2 separate regions of the Homo sapiens genome follow, and region 2 is linked to region 1. The links are contacts of gene promoters, found by promoter capture Hi-C in human tissues and cell types (Jung and others, 2019). All regions are on one chromosome and are shown on one strand. Each heading gives the region's core, a stretch centred on a gene start or on the middle of the fragment in contact. The rest is flanking DNA. Distances are from core to core; before and after follow the strand shown.

Region 1 (7,709 bases), core at 3,446-5,945:
CCTTTCAGTCTCAGCTGGTCCCAAACTCCCTGTCTCTTTGATCTGTCTCCCTTCCTCACCAGGCTGACTCCTACCTCAGGGCCTTTGCACTCGTGGTTCTTCTGCCTAGAACACTCCCTCCCATCCCGCTTAACTCCTACCCATCTTTCTGAGATCTCAACTTAAGCAGAGCTCCCTGCAGAAGCCTCCCAGACCCCCAGGCCAGGTCAGCTGCCTCTGTTATATGCTCTTACAGTGCTTCCCTTCAGAAAATTCATCTTGGTTTGTAATTACACATTTATTTGGGGGTTGTTTGATAAATGTCTCACTTCTTGAGCAGGTCATGTTCCCTAAAGTCTGCTGAGCACGTCATTGCATCTCTAAACCCTTGAGCAGTGGTTGGTCCAGAAAAGATGATTAATAAAAACATGAGAAATAAATGAAAGGATTGAATGGGAGTCTTCCTTCCTGTAAGAAACATGCTCGGCCGGGCGCAGTGGCTCACGCCTGTAATCCCAGCACTTTGGGAGGCCAAGGCAGGCGGATCACCTGAGGTCAGGAGTTCAAGACCAGCCCCGCCAACATGGTGAAACTGCGTCTCTACTAAAAAAAACCACAAAAATTAGCCGGATGTGGTGGTGGGCGCCTGTAATCCCAGCTACTAGGGAGGCTGAGGCAGGAGAATCGCTTGAATCTGGGAGGCGGAGTCTACAGTCATACGAGATCGCACCACTCCACTCCAACCTGGGCGACAGAGGGAGACTCTGTCTCAAAAAAATAAATAAATAAAAAGAAACTTGCACCTTGGCATCCCCCTAGGCCCTGTCCCATCTCATCAGGACCAAATGTGGGTGATGGCTGTGCCTTTTACCATCCAGAGGGTAAGGGCAGGAAAGGAGTGTGACCTGGAGGCCACTGGAGACCATGGAGGCGATCAGGAGTTGCAGGGGTGACAGGAAATTGAGTTACAAAAGTGATGGAACAGACAAGATGACAACTGGGGACCCTGGGGAAAATACAAGGGGTACAATGTGGTCTAATTTGGCAATAGGATGCCACAGGCTGATTGATTAAAATAGGTAACGGGATATGCCAGAGTGATGAAGAAACAGGCAAGCTGGGTGCATACCAGAGTTATCATGGAAGTAACTGGCAAAAATAGGAACAAGGAACAGGAAACACTTTGAGCACTCATTGAATGTCAGGTCCTTTCCACATATTACCCATATATTTCCATAGATTAATCTTTACAACCCTGTCAGGCACTATTCTCTCTCCTTTTTTCAGAAAAGGAAACTGAGGCACACAGGGCAAAATAGAGATGAATAATCTGCTCAGGTCACAGCTGGTAGAGGTGGCATCAGGGCTTTATTTTAGAGACTGTTTTTTTGTTGACCTTTTGTTTTAGTTTTTGTTGTTGTTGGTGGTGGTGTTTTGTTTTGTTTTTAGAGACAGGCCTCACTGTCACCCAAGCTGGAGTGCAGTGGTACGATCTCGGCTCACTGCAATCTCCACCTCCTGGCTCAAGCAATCCTCCCACCTCCACCTCCTGAGTAGCTGGGACTACAGGTGCACACTACCACACTTGGCTAATTTTAAAATTTTTAGTAGAGACGAGGTCTTGCTATGTTGCCCAGGCTGGCCTCAAACTCCTGCTCTCAAACAATCCTCCTGCCTTGGCCTCCCAAAATGCTGGGATTACAGGTGTGAGCCACAGTGCCTAGCCGAGAGACCTTGTTCTTAATTACTGCATACCATCCACTTTTGGTGAACAAAGTGGCCTCCAAAGTGATTGTGGCTTAATAGTCTATCATTTGAGTGGGGAACAAATCGAGACATGGAAGGGGCTATTGAAGAATTCCCTTCCACATCTCCTCATTGCTTCATTCTTCCTCTTCCTCTGCTCACTAGTGTCCCTTTTGTCCTATGTGTTAAGATTAAGATTTAAGATTTACTAATTTCGGCCGGGCATGGTGGCTCACGCCTGTAATCCCAGCACTTTGGGAGGCTGAGGTGGATGGATCACCTGACAGGAGTTTGAGACCAGCCTGGCCAACATGGTGAAACCCTGTCTCTACTAAAATACAAAAATTAGCTGGGTGTAGTGGCAGGCACCTGTAATCCCAGCTACTCGGGAGGCTGAGGCACAAGGCTGAGGCACGAGAATTGCTTGAACTCAGGAAGACACAAGCCAGGGGCCAGAAGCCTCCACCTGCCCCATATCATTGAGCCAAAGAAGGGAAGTGGGGTCTGAGGGAGGAAGCCAGGTCTCCCTCTCTGTGGCTCTGCCCCATCATCTGGCATTGGTGTCCTTAACTTGGAGTCAGTGGACTTGGATGGGAAAAGAATATTACTTTCACTAATCTCTAGCTGAAATTTAACATTTCCTCCAATTATGACAATAGCAACAAACCAGTCATTTTAGCCATAACTATGGCTTTGTCACCAGTAGAAATCACATATATTTTTATATCATATTACAATATTGCAGATCTTTTGAAATACCATTTATGCTCATCACTGCATCAAAGTTATGTGAGGTATCAACCTACCACTAGATCTTATTTAAAGCATTAATAAAGAAGCACATATATTACTATATCACATCGGTTTTATATGTGTATTACAACATAATTGGTTTCCTTTGCAATCCTATATATTTTATTTTATGCATTTTAAAATATTATTCTGAGATGAGACCACATACTTTACCGTATTGCCAAAGGAGAACATGGCACAAAAAGGTTCAGAACTCTTGCATCTAGCCCCTGACCCAAACTCCCCGGCATCCATTCCTCAAAACTCCCTGTGCCCTTTACTGTCTTTTCCTGCTCCCTTATTTTGCTGGGTTAGTCTGAGTCCTTAAAGAAGAAGCTGCCAAGGCAGAATGCAAGGATTTGACTAGGGGAGATGCCTGTGAGAGAGGAAGGGAGCCTGGAGCTAGGAGAGCTGTGAAGGAGAGAGGGAAGGAATAAAGGTTGAGAGGAGCATCCTAAAACACCAGTCAAAGGAAAGTTCAGCAAAGCCATTGGGAAATCTTGATCCAAAGTCAGCTGTCAAAGGAGTCCCCTATCTCCCAGGAATGGGTCTGCCTTAGATCTCTGCTGAGCTCTGTCACTGGCTGGGAGCAGCCCAGTGGGAAGCTGGCCTTAGATTTCAGAGAGAAGCAGCTGGGGCCATTGGTTAATTTCACTCCTCACAGTGTAAGATCTGTGAGGAGCATTCTCACTGCCACCACAGTTGCCCATCTGAAAAAAAGGACATGGTGCAGGGGTCCTGTCCAGGGTGGTAGGTGAGCATGGTAGTTATAGATATAGACTTGGAGGGTTGGCTATTTTCTAGCTGCAGAGTCTTGAGCAAGTTATTTAATGCTCCCTGTCTCCTTATATGTAAAATAGAGGTGATAAAATTTCCTATTTGTAGGGATATTTGTGAGGATTAAAGTTTGCAAAGCAATGTTTACATAGATCCTGGAGCACGGTCAGCTCTCAATAATTGGTAGCCCTTATTATGGCTATTGCAATTATTATTTTATTACTATAATTCTCTTTCTCAAAGGGAAGGCCGGGAAAGTGGGGCTCCAGTAGGTTGAAGATGACAGTCCCTCCCCTAGCTGAGGCAGCTGGAAGAGGTGGGAACCACTTCCTCCCACTCCCCTCTTCTTCCCCTGAGGCAGGGGTCTTCCCCTAGCTACTGACAGTTCCTGTGTCTGCTGACTCACAGCCAACTTCCTCTCATACAAACAGGAAAACACAGCCGGCCAGCGCCCCCGCCACCCCCAACACATACACACACACACACACACACACACACACACACACACACACACACACACACACAAACACCCCCCCCCCACACCCAAACACTGGTCCTGCTCAGAGAGGGAAGTGCCTCCGCCCCTGGGAGACAGGCTCCAGGACCGGGGTTCCGGCAAGATTAGCGAAGGAGAGAAGGGCCATTCCTCTTCAGGCCTCCCCGGCATCCCCCCTGAAATTTTAGGGTGGGAGTTGGGGAGAAGGGGCGGCTTCTCCCATGAATGAAACAGCTGCTTGCTTGGTCACTGAGCTTGCAGGGCGTCCGCCTGTCCCAAAAAGGCAGCCCCAAACCTTGGTTTGGAAGTAGGGATGTGCCTTGCGGACCTTCATCCCTCGAAGGAACCTAGGCCGGGCCCTTGGGGATGGAAGTGGGGAGAAACAGACGGGTACCCCTCTGCTGGGCCTCTGCGCTTGTTGCCCAGGCCAAGTCTCAATTCTGGATGTCCAGCTTCCGTCCCCACACTAAACTGGTTGCCAGGGTCCAGCCACCCTTCCGGGCGTGGGAGAGGTGCCCTGGGGGATTAGGGCTCGACCTTTCCTCCTCCCTTTTGGCAGGACTGGAGGGCATGGGAGCAGCGGAGAGGATGCAAAGCCGTCCCTGGCACTCTCCCTTTCTCAGTTTCTACCTCCGTCCCAGTCTCCGTCCCGGTCTCTGCCTCTTTGTCCCTCTCCCTGAGGTTGTCTTCGTCCCAACGTGTTCTGGTCCTTTCTCGGCCTGCGAGAGGGCAGACTGGGGGCAGACTCGGAGATAAGCGCGGCGGTTGGGCAAGAAGCCCAAACCCTTTGGAGGCCTGCGCTTGCACAAGGAGTGGCCGGGGCCCCGCGGAGGGAACCGGCCGGGCGGGGCGGGGCTGGGCCCGTCGAGGGAGGGCAGAGGGGAGGCGGGGCCGGCGCGGCGGGACCCAGAACCTCGGACGAGCGGCGGGCACCCGCGAGCGGACGGCGGCCGCGTAGTGAGGTGAGGACCCCCGCGCCCCCCGGGTCCCTGCTTCCCAGACTCCTCCCCATCACCTTCTCGAGGGCCTTCGTGGGCTCCCAGGCCCCCTCGGCGCCGGCGGCCCTCCCCATCCCTGCCACGACCCGCCCCTCCCTCCTGCTGCCCGGCCTCTGCCCCATCCCTCCTCGCCCCCTCCCTCGTCGCAGCCTGCGCTGCCCGCCACTGCCCGCCCCGCCCCCGCCACTCCTGTCCCGCGAGCACCTCAGCTCCCAGCCCCGTGCTGTCGAGCCCGGCCTGAGTCACCGGGAAACCGGGCCCTGAGTCAGGGCCCGAGGCTCAGCACGCGGGCCCTGGCTTGGGAATGAGGCCCAGCTGGAGAGAGGCAGAGGGAGGCCAGCAGTGATGCTGGGACGGAGAGGGCGTCCTGGTCACCGACAGAGCACAAGAGTAACAGGGAGAGAGCCTAGGCCGAGGCGGAAGACAGAAACCCAGGCTCAGAGGCAGACAGAGACACAGATACAACTCAAGATCTGGTTAGAATTGTAGACTGAGTCAAGGACAAGCTTAATAACAGAGAGCAAAACAGGGTGGGACAAGGAGAGGGACAAAGAAGAATTGAGAGGTTGAGATGGAATGGGGCAGGGACAGTGACAAGGCAGAGATAAAACTCAGGGGCCACAGAATTAGAGACAGGTCTATGAAATAGACCAGGGTCAGGGTCGGGGTCAGGCTGGTGGAAGGGGGACAGAGCACAGAGACCTGAGCCCAAGGGAATGAGCAGGGAAAAGGCAAGCTCAGAAAAGGAAGGCTTGGAGAAAGCAGAGGTGGGGGGATGGCATTTCACACTGCCAAATCGCTACAGGGCATGTGCACACACAGGTGAACAGCATGTGAACATGCTGCCGGTGGGCAGAGAGTCCAGAAGCCTCTGGAGTACCCCTGACCAGAGGTCAGGCCTCATCTCTCTGGCATCCCCATCCTTATTCTTCAATTAGCCTCCACCCAGGGCCGGGACCCCACACATTAGGACTGGTTAGGGCTCTCCCGGCAGCCTGACCAAAGCAGGCAGGATGTGGAGGCGGCCAGGGCTGGAGGGACAGGAAGGAAGTCTGAGCAGAGACAATAGGTGGAAGGGGAGGAGGGACTGGGAACAACCAGGATTAGGACGGCAGGCCTGCATACATCGGCTCTGGAAACAAGAGGGAGGGGGCGTCTGCACCTCCTTCCTCCTATCTAGGCTGCCCCTCTCCCTACCTTACTCCAGAGCTGATTGGCCACATCATTGGCCCCTCCTCTGCATCTCCCTATCCCACTCTGACCCACAGCATTCTAGCATCTTGTCCCATGCTTACTCAGTTGGATGTGCAGTCAGGCAGGAGCAGAGCTTTGACCCAGACCCAGGGTGGGCAGGAACTGAGGGGCCAACTCTAGCACTGACTTACTGTGAACCTGGGGCAAGCCCCTTCCCCTCTCTGGGCCTCAGTTTCCTTAACTTCAAATGAAGTCCCTTCCCTAAGTAGAGAGCCATTGCTGTTGTTCTGGGATGGCTCTGCTTCCAGATCGCAGGCCTTTCAGCATCTTTCTTTGGAGGAAGATTGGAGGCTGGTGCTCACTGTCCAGGCCTCAGACTCTGGGGCAGAGAGGGGGATTCTCAGCCTGAGCCCTCCCTTCACCCTGCCCCTCCCCCCAGCAATGGCCTGAGCCCCCATGGCTGCCCCTCAGGACCTGGACATCGCTGTGTGGCTGGCCACGGTGCACCTGGAGCAGTATGCAGACACGTTCCGACGGCATGGCCTGGCTACAGCAGGTGCAGCCCGGGGCCTGGGCCACGAGGAGTTGAAGCAGTTGGGCATCAGCGCCACAGGGCACCGGAAACGCATTCTACGCCTGCTACAGACAGGCACCGAAGAGGGCTCCCTGGATCCCAAATCAGATAGTGCCATGGAACCATCCCCCAGCCCAGCCCCGCAAGCCCAGCCCCCTAAGCCCGTGCCGAAGCCCAGGACCGTGTTTGGTGGACTCAGTGGCCCTGCCACCACTCAGAGACCTGGGCTGAGCCCAGCCCTCGGGGGACCAGGAGTGTCCAGGAGCCCAGAGCCCAGCCCAAGGCCTCCTCCTCTCCCCACTTCCTCCTCTGAGCAGTCTTCAGCCCTAAATACTGTGGAGATGATGCCTAATTCCATCTACTTCGGCCTGGACTCAAGAGGCAGGGCACAGGCAGCTCAGGACAAGTGAGTGGAGTTGGCTCCCTAGGGACTGATGCTGGGAGGAGTGGGGAGGAGAGCATGAGGGGGACGGAGGCGGGGAGCAGGGCATGAAGGCTTGTTCTTCCTCCTCTCTCCTTAAGTAACCAATAGACCTTTCCCTTCAGGGCCCCAGACAGCTCCCAAATCTCTGCCCCCACCCCTGCCCTCAGGCCCACAACAGGCACAGGTAACTGGGTTATCACGGGTTGGGGGAGAGGGATAGTGCCGGCAGGACCTCATACACTCCCAGCGATCTCCTCTTCCTTGTGCGTTCCCCTCTCCTCCTGCCAGTGCACATCATGGATCCTGGTTGCCTGTACTATGGTGTCCAACCTGTGGGGACTCCAGGAGCCCCCGACAGAAGAGAGAGCAGAGGTGTTTGTCAGGGCAGGGCTGAACACAGGTGAGTACTAAATAGGGAAGTGGTGGGAGGGAGGAGCAGGTGAGTCGGTGGCGGCCATGTATCCAGTTATTCAACAAATGTGCATTGAGTATTCACCAGCCAGGCACTCAAGATACAGGATGAGTATCACAGACCTAGTGCCACCCTCAGGCAGCTTGTGACTCAGTGGGACAGACAGGGAATAAAACAAGTAGACAAACCAATGGTCATATAATGGAAAATTGGGAGAAGTGCTTTTCTTTCTTTCTTTCTTTTTGAGACGGAGTCTTGCCTTGTTGCCCAGATTGGAGTGCAGTGGCACAATCTCGGCTCACTGCAACCTCCCCCTC
Region 2 (7,709 bases), core at 3,799-6,298, 140 kb before region 1:
AGGCTGAGGCTCAGAGAGGTTAAATACTTCCCTAAGCTAGTATGTGGTCGAGCTAGAATTTGAAACCAGAATGTCCTGCCCCAGAATCTAGACTCCTAACCACTGGGCTGTGCTACCTCTCTTCTCTGGAAGCTTCACCTGTACCTGGACACATTTACCTTCACTTTCCTCTTCTCCTGTCCTTAGCTTTCACCACCACCTTCACAATTTCTCATTTCAGGCTAAGCCAGATAATCACCCCAGACACAAGGGCAGGCTCAGCACTGCTATCAAAATCCCTTTTCCTTTTATCTTCTCCATCACCATCTTAGCCTTATCGCGTTCACTATCATGATCAACTTCACCATTTATAAAGTCTCTAATTGCAAATGACTGTGTACCTATAGACCAATGCAGATCTAACCCCTGCCTTGGGATGGGAGGATGGGGCTTACAGTCAAACCAAACAGCAGTTTAAGCCACATATACTCCTCCCTTTGTAAGTAAAGGTACGAAACCAGAATGTGGAAGGCAGTCTTCTTCTTAAGAGATTTTTCTGCAATAAGATGGAGGTGGTGAAGGAGAAGTTTCGAACAGCCAAAGAGTGCCTGCTGAGGGAAATTAATCAATGGCCAAGAAGATTGCTTGTCATCTTTCAATATCTATAAGAAATAACGAGCCTCCAGAGAGGGAGCTAGAGCTCCAAGGGAAAAGAAGACCAGTGGGTACTCTGTCCAACTCATGCCTCTAAGGAGCTACAGGAGAAAGATGGAGCCATAGGCAGCTTCCACCCCTTTGGATGGTGGCCAACACCCATCTCCCCAGCCACAGTATCTCTCACAGCCCCTGGGGAAGCCAGAAGCAAGCAACACTGCCCAGGAGTTTTAAAACTGATTCTTCCCTTAAGCTCAAGTCCCACCCACCTCCCAACCCAGTGAGCTTGCTGGTTGGCTGTCCATGAGTGTTGGCTGCCAGATGTGCCATCATCCGGCACAGGATGTACAGGAAAGAGGGCAATGGCTTCCCGGACCAGAGTCTCCACCCAGAATTCCAGCCAAGGCCCCAGAGCTCCCAGGACCTGGAGAATTTGTTCCCCCTGGTTGTGTTTGGAATTGGCTGGTTTTCTGGGCACCAGGCCCAGCTCAGTTTAATTTTTGTTTATTTTTATGTACAGATTCTCTTCTGTTTGGGGATGAGCTTTGTGTAAATTATTATTATTTATATGATAAAGAATAAATCACACCAAATAAAAAAACCCACAATCTCTTTTTCTCAATAGAATTACTAAATTAGGGGCTGAAAGGAACAGCCGATATGCTGGGGTTTGGTTTCAGGAAGGCTTTGGACATGGATTCTCGCAAAACGTCTTAGTAAATGGGCTCTGTTATCCTGGATTTGATGCTACCCACAGTCCGCAGAGGCATAAGGGGCCTCCCAGAAAGATGGCAGTGGTTCAGGCCTAAGGGTGGCTTCCTGGCCCTCCAGACATCCCACCCCTGGAGAGATGAGTCGGGCATTTTGAAGTGATTCGCTAACTCAGAATGGGGAAAAAAAGGGAAAACAGGAGTTGGGGATTCTTGCCAGAACATGATCAAATGCCCTGAACTGGGGTGGGGGTAGGGTTCATAGGAGTTACTTGAATAGTGGCATTATTACATCAGGGAAAATGAGCCAATCATTTCTTTGCCTATTCATTAAATTTGCATGCTAAGACTCTATTGGTTGGAATGAAATGAGTCAGGAGGCAGGGATGCAGATGGGCAGAGGACCAGCTGGGCCTGGAAAGTGTCCCCAAGTGGCCCCCATCCCAGCCAGGGTAGGGAGAAGACCAATTCACCAAAAATACTGCACCCTCACCCCCTATCATCCACCTTTGGATAAAATTCTGTTTGGGAACTAGAGAAAGACACACCCAGGGCAAGAATCCATCCTGGGGCTAATATCCTAAAGACCAGATAGAGAAAAAAGTCAGCAATAGTTGTTTTTTGTTTGTTTTTGTTATTTTTGTTGTTGTTGTTTTAAATCTCCTAGGACCTCAGGCTACCAGAGATTTTTCTTTTTTTTTTTTTTTTGACGAAGTTTCGCTCTTGTTGCCCAGGCTGGAGTTCAATGGCGCAATCTCTGCTCACCGCAACCTCCGCCTCCCGGGTTCAAACGATTCTCCTGCCTCAGCCTCACGAGTAGCTGGGATTACAGGCATGCGCCACCACGCCTGGCTAATTTTGTATTTTTAGTAGAGACGGGGTTTCTCCATGTTGGCCAGGCTGGTCTCAAACTCCCGACCTCAGGTGATTCGCCTGCCTCAGCCTGCCAAAGTGCTGGGATTACAGGTGTGAGTCACCACACCTGACCAGCTACCAGAAAGTTTTAAAAAACATCTAGGCTGGGCGCGGTGGCTCATGCCTGTAATCCCAGCACGTTGGGAGGCCGAGGCGGACGGATCACTTGAGGTCAAGAGTTGGAGACCAGTCTGGCCAACATGGTGAAACCCTGACTCTATTAAACATACAAAAAATTAGCCGGGCATGGTGGCGCATGCCTGTAATCCCAGCTACGCAGGAGGCTGAGGCAGGAGAATCGTTTTAACCTGGGAGGCGGAGGTTACAGCGAGCTGAGATCGCACCACTGCACTCTAGCCTGGGCCACAGAGCGAAACTCAGTCTCAAACAAACAAACAAACAAAATCCATACACACACAGAAAAACTTCTGGCACCGTTGCCTATCAGCTTTTTCTCAAACTGTGTCCTCTTCCTAGAATGGACTTCTCCTATCTTCCCACCTAAGTAAGTCCTACCTTTGCGTCAAGGCACAGCTATAGCCATTGTCATGGTGGGGTCCCAGAGCAGGGACTCTGGCGTCTCCTCTTGAGCTTGAAAATCTACTCTGCCGCTTAATAGCTGTGGAAAATTTGGGCAACTCGCTTAATCCTCCCTGAGCCTTAGTCTCCCCATCTGTAAATGGGATAATAATAGCAATCACACATACCCAGAGGCTTAAGAGTGAGGATTAAATCAGAAAGGTCACATGTAAAATGTGCTTACACAGTAAGTGCTCTATTAAAGTGGTAGTTATTTAGAATGATACTCTAGTAAGCTATCCCAGAGCTCCCCAACTGGGAATTAACTGTGTCCCACTCTGACATGTACCTTGGGAACACAGGGATTCCACCTTTAGGGTTTCTGACTAAATCATTTTTCACAGTCTGCCCTGAATCAGCTATTATGTAATGAATCTGGCAGTCCCTAGCCAAGCTTTGCACTTAGTAGGTACTTGCTAAGACAATAAATGCTTGTTTAAAATATTGCCCACCTAGTCAAATTCCCAAACCCTGTAAAACCCCACTAAATTCTAATCTATTTGTCCTGAGTCCCACACAATGCCTGGTTCAGCCACTTCCAGTAGAGTGGGAAATGGGGAGCAGTGGAAGATGGGCTGGGGCCCCAGGAGGAGAGGGGAGATGAGAGGTGGGAAATAAATGGAGCCTGTAAGGGGTTTTACTGTGTCCAGGCCACATGGATCAATCTGTTTTCACTGCCCCTCCATAGGGCACTTTAAATTCCACCCTCGTCTTTGATTAACCAATGGCTGACCTGAGACAGGTCTGCTTGTGCAGGTCCTCATCCAGCCAGAGGAGGTGTATATTGATTAGCTAGACTAGGGCAATGAACTGTACAGGCTCTGGATTGCCTAAAAGGCCCCTTGAGAGGTGGTCCTTGTGGGCGAGGGAAATCTCTGAGTCACCGTGGGTACTCATGCACTTGCCCATGAATAACCATACATTTATATGTGTATGTTTGTGGGTAAATACTGGCCCTTTTATCTTGGTGTGTATTCAGTAATTCATTCATTTGTTCATTTATTATTTATTGAGGCCCTACTGTGGGCTAGCACAATGCCGACGCTAGAATGTGGTAGTCGCTAAGGCAAAATTCCTGCCCATACTGAGCTTTTTTTCTAGCGAGTGGAAAGAGTAACAGTAAAGCAAAGAAATTAACAATTTAGTTTTAGATCGTGAAAGTGCTGTAAAAATAATAAAACAAGATAAAGGGATAGAGAGCAACAGTGCATGTAGAGGGAGCTCCTTTAGGACGAGTGGTTTGGGTCAAGACCTAAATGATGAGAACAAATCAGCCTCAGAAAAAATCTGGAAACAGAGCATTCCAGGCAGAGGGCACAGCAAGTGCAAAAGCTCGGAAGAATTGCTTTGGGCCAGTGACTCTAGGAATCTGTGTCATTCTGAGGCAAATGTCAATCAGCTTTTATTGCACGTACACATTTGTATCTTTCCATTGCTGTTAGAATCATGCCAACCTCCTCACTGAGACCTACAGTCTTACAACCCCACCCACTGGCCTCCAATCCCATTGGCTTCTTCAGGTCCTTGAATAAGATGGATTCCCTCCTGCCACAGGATCTTTGCACAGTCTGATCCCATCACCCTGCATACTGTTTCCTCCCCTCTTTCCAGAATTAAATCCTTTTTTCTTTCTTTCTTTCTTTCTTTCTTTCTTTCTTTCTTTCTTTCTTTCTTTCTTTCTTTCTTTCTTTCTTTTTCTTTCTTTCTCTTTCTTTCTTTCCTTCCTTCCTTCTCTTTCTTTCTTTCTTTTTTTCTTTCTTTCTCTTTTTCCTTCCCTCTCCTCTCCCCTCCCCTCTCCTCCCCTCCCCTCCCCTCTCTCTTCTTTCCTCTCTCTTCTCTTCTTGCCCAGGCTGGAGTGCAATGGCACGATCTCGGCTCACCGCAACCTCTGCCTCCCGGGTTCAAGCAATTCTCCTGCCTCAGACTCCTGAGTAGCTGGGACTACAGGCATGTGCCATCACACTCGGCTAATTTTGCATTCTTAGTAGAGACGGGGTTTCTCCATGTTGGTCAGGCTGGTCTCAAACTCCCGACCTCAGGTGATCTGCCCACGTTGGCCTCCCAAAGTGCTGGGATTACAGGCGTGAGCCACCGTGCCTGGCCTTTTTTTTTTTTTGAGATGGAGTCTCACTCTGTCACCCAAGCTGGAGTCCAGTGGCACAATCTCTGTTCACTACAACCTCCACCTCCCAGGTTCAAGTGATTCTTCTGCCTCAGCCTCTTGAGTAGCTGGGACTACAGGCATGTGTCACCATGCCAGGCTAATTTTTGTATTTTAGTAGAGATGGGGTTTCACCATGTTGGCCAGGGTGGTCTTGAACCCATGACCTCAGGTGATCCACCCACCTCAGCCTCCCAAAGTGTTGGGATTACAGGCATGAGCCAGTGTGTCCGGCCAAATCCTACTTTCTTTAGCTCTCAGGAAGCCTACGGTGGGTCACCCTTCTACCTTCTACACTAGATCAGTTTCCTTTGTTAGATGCTTTCATATTACCAAGTTCCTATAGTCAACTTCTTATCTTACTTAGTAATTATGCATTATCTTATCTGATATTAGTATCTGACTTCCCACCAGAATTACAACCCTCTGGGAAAGCTGGTTATCTGAGATTTTTTTGTTTGTTTTTTGAGACATACTCGCTCTGTTGCCTGGGCTGAAGTAGAGTGGCCCGATCTTGGCTCACTGGAATTTCTGCCTCCCAGGTTCAAGCAATTCTCATGTTTCAGCCTCCAGAGTAGCTGGGACTAGAGGTGCCCGCCACCACGACAAAGCTAATTTTTGTATTTTTAGTAGAGACAGAGTCTCGCCATGTTGGACAGGCTGGCCTTGAACTCCTAGCCTCAAGTGATCCACCTGCCTTGGCCTCCCAAAGTGCTGCGGTTACAGGCATGAGTCACATTCCCAGCCTGAGGGCTTGTTATCTTACCTGTGTAACTTATCTGTATCCCCTTTATACAGGGGAATATATTGACAGCCTTCAAATGTGTTCTATGTTCAATATATTCAATATATTCAGTATATTCAAAATATATTGGCAGCCTTCAAATTCTGCGAGGCTGTCACATTGCAGAGGAAGACCATGTTAACATAGGAGCAGGGAGGTGAAGAAGTGGGTTGTTAAGGAGAAGTGGGTGGGGTTCCTTCTAAGGAAGGTCTTATAAGAATGAGAAGTTTCAGGGGTAGAACAGGTGCCTTAGGAGGTAGTGAGTTCCCTGTCCTTGGGGGTCTGTAAGCAGACAGGAGAATAGAGGGAGGTGCCCCAGGGAGTCTTCATGTCAGCATCAAGGTTCTGTGATTAGTAGTCCACCAGCTGACCAGGTCCTTCAACCCCAACGCAGCTGTAACAATGGGAGCCCCAGGTGCTGAGTGGTGCTGGGTCTGACCCAGTGAGATAAGCGTCTGACTTAAGGAACTTGGGGGTGGACAGGGTCGTTCCCAGCTTCAGACTCCATCAGGGACTCTAGGTGGCTGCTGCTCCCCCTCCTTTCTGCCTAGCTCTGAAAGGGCTAGGAAGGAGGGAAGGCAGCGGGTGGGGGTGGGAGGAGGAGCTTCCGCAAGTCTTAAGTGGCTCCCCAGCTGGAGCTATGGTGCATATTTTAAGTGGAGTTTACAGACAATGGATCTCTCTAGGGCTTGGAGGGGAAGGAAGCAGAAATTCAGGACCATTCTGTGAATTCCCAAGTTCTTTGTGTCCATTGTGTAGGGAACAATGCTGTTTGTTCGGCACATTCACTCAAGATGGGGGATGGGGGGAGATGGTTAGGCCCCAGTGTTCCGAGGTTCTTCGAGGGGCGGGGCTGCTCGGGGAAGGGGTGGATGGAAGCTGGAGGGGCTGGGGGTGAGCCTTAAGGGAGGTGAGGATTCCAAGTCTGGTTGTGTGGGTTTGAGCTCCAGGACAGCTCCCTTTAGTACAAATATTGCTTCCCCTCTACACCTCTCCACCCTTCTCCAGAGATTCTAATCCTCAGAGGCTTCTGACCTTGATGTGTTGTCCAAAGGGTTGGGTTGGGGGGCTGAGGAGGAGTGAAGCTGTCTGTTCACCAGGTAACCTTGGACAAGCCACTGCCTCCCGGAGGCCTCACCCTCTTGCTCTATTTCCACAGTTGAAGGGCCAGCTAGAGATGGTCTCTCACAGCCACAAAATTAGGTCCCTTCCATACCACATCCTCAATCTCACCAAGCCTGGGCTCCTTCCTGACTCTCACCCAGTAAGTTCACAATCTTGGTTGCCAGTGGAGGCTGTATATCCCCAGAGTGAGGGAAATGAGAGATGAGGCCAATGTAGGGCCTAGAACCTCACTAATAAGAAAATCTTCACTTACTGGTTAGTTAGCAGCTGCTGGACACTGTGCATACATTCTCTTATAGGGCCTGGGATTAAAAGCTCTGCTCCTAGCCAGGCACAGTGGTACTGCACACCTGTAGTCCCAGCTTCTTGGGAGGCTGAGGCGGGAGGATTGATTGAGCCCAGGAGTTCGAGAACAGCCTGGGCAACATAGCAAGACCCTGTCTGTTAAAGAAAAAGTCCCATAGCTGGGTCACCTTAACCACCTTAACATCTCTGAGCCTCAGTTTCCTCTCTGTAGGATAAACTAGATATAGTAATAATAATATCTACCTCACTGGGCTGTTATGAGGATTAAACGAGATTACATCTCAAGCACTGTCTCTGGAAGGGTGGTAGAGCTTATAAATATTGGTCATATACCTATATATAATTACTATCTCCATTTTTCATATATGGAAAGCAAGTCTTGGAGAAGGTAGGCATCACACAGTGAATAAATTAGGGCATGATAATTCAAATCCAGGCTGGTTGATTCTGAAGCTGAGTTGCTGACCATTGCTCAGCACCTCCTGCAGAGATGGGA

What was found. Contacts are between HindIII fragments. The study calls those that stand out against the background at their distance.
Region 2: a contact is called between a fragment that was not itself captured here and the fragment with the promoter of ARAP3 in region 1, in 2 of the 25 tissues and cell types used here (aorta and neural progenitor cells).

Annotation. Positions count from the first base shown.
Region 1 is chr5:141,679,216-141,686,924 of GRCh38, reverse strand. It overlaps ARAP3 (ArfGAP with RhoGAP domain, ankyrin repeat and PH domain 3), which reads left to right and starts at 4,695. Exons shown (of 33, transcript NM_022481.6): 1 at 4,695-4,752; 2 at 6,422-6,962; 3 at 7,103-7,164; 4 at 7,269-7,380. The coding sequence starts at 6,439. RefSeq lists a silencer at 4,646-4,695. The HindIII fragment of the contact is 12,570 bases long and covers 1-7,709 here.
Region 2 is chr5:141,815,575-141,823,283 of GRCh38, reverse strand. It overlaps LOC107986454 (a long non-coding RNA gene), which reads left to right. Exons shown (of 3, transcript XR_001742906.2): 1 at 1-1,795. Among named protein-coding and RNA genes, the nearest start is that of PCDH1, 59 kb to the left of the region's middle. RefSeq lists enhancers at 1-245, 5,652-6,642, 6,643-7,634. The HindIII fragment of the contact is 6,731 bases long and covers 1,683-7,709 here.